3 separate regions of the Homo sapiens genome follow, and regions 1 and 2 are each linked to region 3. Evidence: promoter capture Hi-C in human tissues and cell types (Jung and others, 2019). All regions are on one chromosome and are shown on one strand. Each heading gives the region's core, a stretch centred on a gene start or on the middle of the fragment in contact. The rest is flanking DNA. Distances are from core to core; before and after follow the strand shown. Region 1 overlaps CGNL1 (cingulin like 1). Region 2 has its middle 17 kb from the start of GCOM1. Region 3 holds the start of CGNL1 (cingulin like 1).

Region 1 (2,700 bases), core at 78-2,577, 130 kb after region 3:
ACACCATTATCTTTCATTTTTCTTGATCCGTGCAGTGAATGGATCCGTAACGCCACCCTGTTTTTAAGAAAGCTGAGCTGTGATTTAGAGAAGTTGTTACTTGCACAAAACCTCACAGTGGTCAGGTGACTATACCAGGATCAGGACGTTTCTATTCTGGCCCCATTCCCCTTGCCAGTCAGTTAGAGCTGGCTATTGACCCAGGTAGCCTGGCCTTGCAAGGAGGAACCAGGGCACTCTGGGCTTTGTAGGAGCCTGGTCTGCTCAGCTCTGTCTCAGGGAACAGCCTACTACTTTAAAGGAGGAAATAATAAAGGTCACTCTTGTCAGGTGTCTTAACCCTGTGGGTACCAGAGTCAGCCTAAACGCTTGTAGCAGTCTTGGCCCAGGCTCTTGCCTACCGAGACCATGTCCTTTTCTTTCTCCAGTCCCTGCTTAGCATCGCTCCTGTGGCCATGGAAGTGTGGGGCAAACGGAAAAGTTGACAGCTTTCTATACGGAAATTTGGTCTTGTTTGGGGCTGCAAGGAAGCACTAATGAGAAGCATCCATTGGATTGAAAGTTCTTGGCCTCAGCATTTGTATTTAAGTTCTGAAAATGGCATGATTTTTATAATTCAGGAGAGACCCTTTCAGCATTTATGGATATATGGTAGCAAAATGGGAAAGTTGAAGGATCCGTTTTCACAAATAACAAGACTTCCGGGCAGGGGTGCAGGGCAGAACTGTGGACTGGAGTAGGCCTGTGAGCTTCCAGATTGAGCCTTTGGCTGCTTGTTTATCTTCTTTCTTCAAAAATCCTGTTGAACCTGTTGGACATGTGTGTGCTGACAGCAAGCTGATTTGTAATCATTTGTAAAGCCATGTGGTCTGTCTGTGACAGCGACTCTAACTGGGAGTCTAACGCTTGCATTTACCCGGTTCCCACCCCCCAATATTTTCCTAGTGACGCAGAGCGCTGGAAGCAGGGCATTGTCTGGGTGGAGTCCCTTCCGCCAGCCAGCAGCTCCTTGAAGGCGAACGGCACTGCAGGGGCATGTTGGGTTCTATAAACAGAACTTTTACATGCTGGTCACAAGGTTAGCTTAGACTGTGGCTCTCATGGTGAGGGAAGTGGTGTCTTATAAATATGATGTGAGGCTCCTTTTATCTCCTGGAAACTGGGGAACATTTTGTAAGAATTTTTCTAAGGAATGGTGTTAAAAAAACAAAGCAAAGGCACAATGGAAGGCCTAAGGCTGTGTTTCATAGAAGCCCCTGAAATGCAGTCTTGGTGAGTGTGTGGATGTAGCTGAAGCCCCCAGCTGGCAGGTTCGGGGCCTCCTTTTCCCTTCCCTGGCTGGCTCTGGGGAATTTTCCCTCAAGCTGCTGCCCCCACTTGGAAGAAACTGGTAGCAACTAGCAGAGGTCACAAGCAAGGAGTCAGAGAACCGGGTTCAAGTCCTGGGTGTGTGACTGTTGTCTACCCAACCTTAATGTATTGTGGTCATTGACTGAGGTCTTACTATGTGTCTGAAACATTGCTAGGTGCTTTGCATAATGTCTCAATTCATTTTTAGAATAATGAGAAAACTGAAGTTTCGAGAAGAACAAGCAGGACCAATTCAGGTCTGCTGACTCCAAGGCCTGCACTCTTTTTGTTTTCTTTTGTTTTTATTAAGATAACATTCATATAACACAAAATTCATTTTAAGCATTTTACAGTGTGCAGTTCAGTGGTTTTTTATATATTCACAATTTGGGTAGCCACCATCGCTATCTAATTCTAGAACATTTTCATCACCCTAAATGAAGCCCCTTTCATCTGAATTCCCCCTTTCCCTCATCCTTTGTCAACCACTAGTCTACTTTCTGTCTGTATGGATTTGCCTATTCTGGACATTTTGTATAAACAGAATCATACCATATGTCAAGACCTGAACTATGGAGCATGTTGTGTTTCGGAAAAATCAAATCACTTAACTGCTCTACATCTATTTAGTTGCAGTGTGTTGTGGTCAGAAGGATTTTTATTTCCTTGTTGAGTATCTCTGTAGGTTTATTGTGTGTCAAATGCATTCTGTGAGCAAATATGAGGATTTTATTGTCGTAACTTTTGTCTTGGACCTATATTTTAATTACAGGCCACTCTGAGAGTGAATCTTAACTAGTTTTTTTAAAGGGAAGCATGTTGACTTATTTCCTAAGGACATTATGAAGAAAACCAGAGACATTTTTAACCTATGTAATCACTGAGTTGCCATAGGAAAAACTGGGTAATTGAATATGATTAAAAGGGAGTATCTTTTAGGTGGTTCTATAAGCAAGAAAATTGCCACCAGGGCAACAGAAATACAGGATGTAAATAAAATCTTCATTAAGCAAGGTATATGTAAACTCTACAAGTACGGCAGGTTAATGACCATAAGGAGAGAATGGCCCTCACCTCTGGATGCTGTGGCAGGGACATTGTTACAGATGATCTGGTTTAAATGGCAGCATTTGAAAATAAAATGTAAACATGAGGCAGTAGGAGTAGAACCTCTAGTCATCTTAGCTCACTGAATTCCAGGACTACCTAATGCTGCCTGACTTCTTCAAGTTCATTCTAGAATCCCAGACTGTTAGAGCTGGCCAGGACATTGAAACAAGATAGACTGACCCTTTTGTGTTGCAGAGGGGAGAAAGTGAAGGCAGATAGAAGTTAAATGATTTGTCTGTC
Region 2 (2,700 bases), core at 36-2,535, 200 kb after region 3:
CAGAGGCCTTAGGTCCTCCATGGCAGGACCCCAGTAAACTTGTAATACGACTGAACAAAATCCTCAGAAATGCTGATGGGATGTGGGGACAAACTGGGGTGGCCCTACTGCCATCTAGAAGAGGAAGCAGAAATAAGGCCGCAGGCTTCTGCTCAACTGGAGCCCACTCCTGGGCCTCTGAGTGAGGCCCAGCTGTTAGGGTCAATTGGCTGCAATCATCCAAAACTCACTGAGATGACCTCAAGTGGCAGAAAGAACTTGTTCTATGGTTGGAGGGATGTCTCACAGAGCCCACGAACAGGGAATTTGAATCAGGGATGGGGACATTGCAGGAACCCTGCAAGTTCTTTCTCCCCATTGCTTCCTCTGCTTCCCCTGCCTGTGTCAGGTTCTTCCTCTGAATCCCAGTCTGCATGGTAGAAAATAGCCTCTGAGTTTGTACGTGGATAGAGCAGCTAGACAGGGACTTGGGGAAGGGATAAGATATACCTAGTTTGAGTGCCAAGTTCTGGAAGGTCGGAGGGGAGGCCCCAGTGGGAAACACATGCTTCTTATGGAGCCAGAATTCATCTAATTGAGTTGGAGTTTGCGAAACCCCTTCTCTGCAAAAAAATACAAAAGTTAGCTAGGTGTGATGCTATATGCCTGTAGTCCCAGCTACTTGGGAGGCTGAGGCAAGAGAATCCCCTGAGCCCAGGGAGGTTGAGGCTGCAGTGAGTCGTGATTGAGCCACTGAACTCCATCCTGGGCAACAGAGCGAGTAGCCCTGAAGTCTGTCATCTTGGCCCTGATGTCTTCTTTGAGCGAGTTTATCTTGTGCTATGATGTTCCCGTGAACTCCAGGCCACATCAATAGGCCCCTCCACCTTGGGTGGGGGGCTGGCCTGGGTAAGCTTTAAGGATATCTTCAGAGAAGTCATTTACTTGTGTTGGAACAAAAATAGTTCTTGCATAGCAGCAGGGACAGAACTGACTTGGAGGTCGGAACAGGGTCCCAGTTCCCCCTTGGGGGTCCCAATTCCAGTTCCTCTTCTTATTAGCTTTGTAACCACTACCACCCTGCAGCTATTGAGTGCTCACATTGTAGCCAGTACACATTGAAATGACCTGAGTGTAAAATACACGATGAATTTTGAAGATTTAGTACAAGAAAATGTAAAATATCTCATTACTATTTTACTAGTAACATAATATTAATGTTAAATGATAATATTTCAATATATTGGGTTAAATAAAATATATGAGTAAAATCAAGTTTACCTGTTTCCTTTTATTGTCAATAAATATGGCTATTAGAAAGATTAAAATTACAAAAATGGCTCACGTTCTTTTGGTTTTCCCCTCTAGACTCTAAACCTAACAGATTGCCTTTATTGAAAAGAACAAAATCACACAGTCTTGGCACAACTTTAGAAATTTGGGGAAAGATGCGTATGAAATCTCAATATCTTAGCCTCTGTTTAATGTTAATTACCACATTGTCCTTCAGGGATGCAAATCCTGGCCCAACCTATAGCTGCCCCTCCCTCTGCTCTGCCTGCTGGCAAGACGGCCCAGGCCATGGGGGACAAGATGAGGACAATGATTCCTGACACAAGGCTCTATGCACCCTTTGGGCCTGGTGATGTTCTCATGGGGACCTGCAGGCCATTCCGCTACTCTGAAAAGCTTGACGGAAAGAAAATGTACAGCTTCCCAAGCACTGCTGCCTTGGCTGATGGGATCATTGCTTCTTGGCTTGGGGCCAACAGCAATCCAGCCAGGCAAGGTTGGTGGTCTCAGCTCGTTAGAAGCTCTAATTGGCAATTGTTAATCTCCTTGATTAATAGAAATGTTGAAAACAAATTAATTACTCATTAAAATGTAATTGGATAGACAAAAACTTTCCAAATGTGCTATTCATAGCGAGTGTGACTGAAAGATGTCCTTGGCAATGGAGAGTTTGGGAACCACTGACAGAAGCAATTGTATTCGTCAGGGTCCTGGTTCTTGCATGTTCCGTCTCCACATTTGGTTGGTAGGTGATGGAGTTCCCCTTCACTTTCCTCCAGGGATGTGTCCTCGACATGTCCATCCCCTTGAAATTCATAGAATTTTGAGATTTGGAAGACTTCCATCATGTCGCCACTGGGGATGATGAGCAACCTGTCATGGCTGTCACAGCCCTGTGACCAAACCCCTCGCCCTTTGTTCAGCCCCACTTCCTCCTCAGCTTGGAAGGCACCATGCTTCAAACTATCCCATCTCTGAGAACTCACAGTCAGAGCGGCAACCACTAATTCCTCAGGTTATGTGCAGCTCTGCAAGCCATTGCTCCACTCTCAGAACCAGTTCTTTACCCTTCCTGAGACTACAGGTGCCTGGGCCCCTCCTGGTGCATTAACATATCACCCTCCACTCAAGCCGCTGGCTCCAGCTCCCACGCTCAGGGAGGCAACATTGACTTTATGAGAGCATCTACCTTATTGGAAGGATGTGATAGAATATATATGTATATATGTACATAGACATGTGTAACATAAAATGAGAGAATGTGGACAAAGCTTTCTATAGTGTCTGGTCTGTAGATGCTCTCAGCAACTGTTAACTCTTGTTGCTTATTACTGACTTGTTCTTTTCATGTGCTGTTTTCCCCTCAACCATTGAGACTGCTCAGAGAAAGTAAGAAAATCAGACTGATTGGCTCCGCTACAAAGTCAT
Region 3 (2,700 bases), core at 194-2,693:
TGTTCACACACCCCATCACCTTGGCTGTCTTCCCCAACCTAGACCTGCTAACTCTGGAATAGTGCAATACCGCTTCCTCCAAAAAGACTCCCTTGACCATGCTGCCCACTTGGGATAAGTAGCATCTTTTTTTTTTTTTCTTTCTTTCCTGGCAATGAATCACTATTATTAGGTCGGAGCAAAAGTAACTGTGGCTTTTCCCATTGAAAGTAATAGCAAAACTGCAATTACTTTTGCACCAACCTATTACTTTTTCAAGTCCTTTTATATTGTTTTGAATTGTTAAGTTTTCAAGGGTCTATTTCATTCAATATGTCAGCAAACATGTATTAAGTACAGGTTGGGCAGGGCGCAGTGGCTCACATCTGTAATCCCAGCACTTTGGGAGGCCGAGGCGGGTAGATTACTTAAGGTCAGGAGTTCGAGACCAGCCTGACCAACGTGGTGAAACCCCGTCTCTACTAAAAACACAAAAATTAGCCGCGCGTAGTGGTGGCCACCTGTAGTCCCAGCTACTCGGGAGGCTGAGGCACGAGAATCGCTTGAACCCGGGAGGCAGAGGCAATGAGCCGAGATCGCGCTACTGCACTCCAGCCTGGGCAAAACAGCAAGACTCCATCTCCAAAAAAAAAAAAAAAAAAAAAAAGTACAGGTTGTTGTTTTCTCAGGGAATCCTCATAGCTGGTGAAGTATCCAGCTTTTCATTTTACGGATGAGTGAACTGGGGTTTAGAACTGATAACATTTTGCCCAAGTTCTCACAGCTAGCGAGAGGCGTGCCGCAGTTTATCGTGGGGTGGGTCTAAACAAGGACCTAAAAACTGTATTCGAATCCCAGCCCTACTACCGCCAGCTGTGTGACCTTACGAGGCGCCTCACTTTACTGTTTCTCCAACAGAGACAGACATTTCTTGTTACCGCGCAAGTGGGATAACCTCCCCACCAGTGTCTAGACACAGTAGGTGCTCAATAAATAGGTGTGGGTTTGCGGTGGCAGAAGAGCGCTATCCCTTAAGTTTCTGACAGTGAGGGGGAAAAAGGCTAAGCAGGGAAAGGAAGGGAAAGGGGTAAACTGAGCTCGGCGCAGTCGAGAGCGCGAAATAGGGAGGGCTTCCTGCAGGCCAGGAATTTGGAGAGGCCGAGGCTGGGAGAAGAAAAATGCCCGGTGACGGCGGAGGGGAGGTGGAAGGACGAACGGCTCCGGGAAGGGGTGAGGTCTAAGCGCAGCCCCGGGCCCAGCGGAGCCGAGGGCGGGTGGTGCGGGGGTTCCTGGGTAGGTTCGTCCCGACGGGCCGCGGGCGGATTGAAGGGAGGGTTGGGCCCGCCGGCAGCCCCGGCGGGTCCAGGCCCCCGGCCAGCCCCTGCCCCTCCTCCCAGGAGGGCGGGCGGCGACTGCGGGGCGGGGCGCGGGCTCGCTCGGCCTCCCGGCGGCGCCGCGGCCCTTGCACTCCGGCCGGGCTCTGCTGGCTGCGGCGGGAGCTGGACGCGGGAGGAGGCGGCGGCGGCGGTGAGTGAGCTCCGGGCTGGAGCGGGGCGGGGTGTGCGCCGGCAGCCGGGTTTCGGGGTGCTAGGGGCCGCCCAGGGCGGCGGGACCCCCAGGGGTTCGGGCTCAGCCAGGTGCACTGTGCTCAGTCCGCGCGTCCACTCTCGGTGACCCGCGCCGCGCGTGTCCTGGGGCTCGAAGATGCGACCCGGACTCCCGCGCCGCGCCCCGCCGAGGGCAGGCGCAGAACAGATGCGGGCGATCCCTGGGGAACCCGCTTCGGGGCGGGGTGGGAGGGAGGAGGCCCTGCAGAACCTCCCTTTAGTGAAGAGGGACTTTCTGCCTTCGCACCCCTGCCTGGACCCTCCGGCTCTAGTGACAGCTGGGAGAGACTCACACGAAGCAGTTTCTGACCTATCCTGTCGTACACAAGTCCTCGGCGTGCTCGGCCGGACCATCCCCTGGAAAGAAAGGGGCGTGTGACCTTTCTCTCCCCGATCCTCCAGACCACTGCGCCGCCCAGGGAGGTCATCCCCGAGAGAGCCCCCGCCTCACTCGGAGCACACATTCTAGCTCTCCCCGGGACTTTTCCAAGTTGCATCACTGTTTGGCCTCTAGACAGGTACTTGGCTGTCATGTTGGAGTTAGTTACACAGGATTTTTGAAACTTTGTATATTTGCTTTGTGTGTTCTTCACCCTAAGGCCGCTGCCCTCCCGACTCTGCTTATGCCGCTCAAAACGTTGCTCAAAGCTCGCTGGGAATGCTTTTGCGGGCATTGGTTCTCAAACTTGGCCCCACATCTGGAGAGTTTTAAAAAATACTGGTGCCTGTGTCCCACTCCCAGAGATCTGGATTCGGCTTGCCTGGGTTGCAGCCTGGACAATGGAATTTTTAAGACGCCGCAGGTGATTCTAATGTGCAGGCAAGTTTGAAAACCTCTGCTTTGAGAGTTGCTCCCACCAGCCACTCTTCGGACGGCTCAAGATCAGTCCTGATCTAGAACTCATCTCAGGTCCTCATAGCTCTTCCCTAATCCACCTCTCCACCTGAAGAACCTGTTGATTGGTGCTTTCCAACTTTAGACAGTAGATGGTGCCTTTACTGAAGATCCCTTTGTTTCTACCTCTCTGTTTACAGTCAATACTGCCAGGGCACTTTCTGCCAAGGAGGTGGGAGTGTAGGCATTAGAACCGAGCAGTCCTTGTCAGGGTCAAGG

Evidence for each region. The method cuts DNA at HindIII sites, captures the fragments that hold promoters and counts their contacts. A contact is called where the count stands out against the background at its distance.
Region 1: a contact is called between a fragment that was not itself captured here and the fragment with the promoter of CGNL1 in region 3, in 1 of the 25 tissues and cell types used here (mesendoderm cells).
Region 2: a fragment that was not itself captured here is called in contact with the fragment with the promoter of CGNL1 in region 3 in 2 of the 25 tissues and cell types used here (H1 embryonic stem cells and pancreas).

What each region holds. Positions count from the first base shown.
Region 1 is chr15:57,505,270-57,507,969 of GRCh38, forward strand. The region is part of intron 8 of CGNL1 (cingulin like 1); the gene reads left to right. Among named protein-coding and RNA genes, the nearest start is that of GCOM1, 85 kb to the right of the region's middle. The HindIII fragment of the contact is 4,195 bases long and covers 1-2,700 here.
Region 2 is chr15:57,573,785-57,576,484 of GRCh38, forward strand. No RefSeq gene overlaps it. Among named protein-coding and RNA genes, the nearest start is that of GCOM1, 17 kb to the right of the region's middle. The HindIII fragment of the contact is 4,052 bases long and covers 1-2,700 here.
Region 3 is chr15:57,375,062-57,377,761 of GRCh38, forward strand. It overlaps CGNL1 (cingulin like 1), which reads left to right and starts at 1,444. Exons shown (of 19, transcript NM_032866.5): 1 at 1,444-1,506. The HindIII fragment of the contact is 14,520 bases long and covers 1-2,700 here.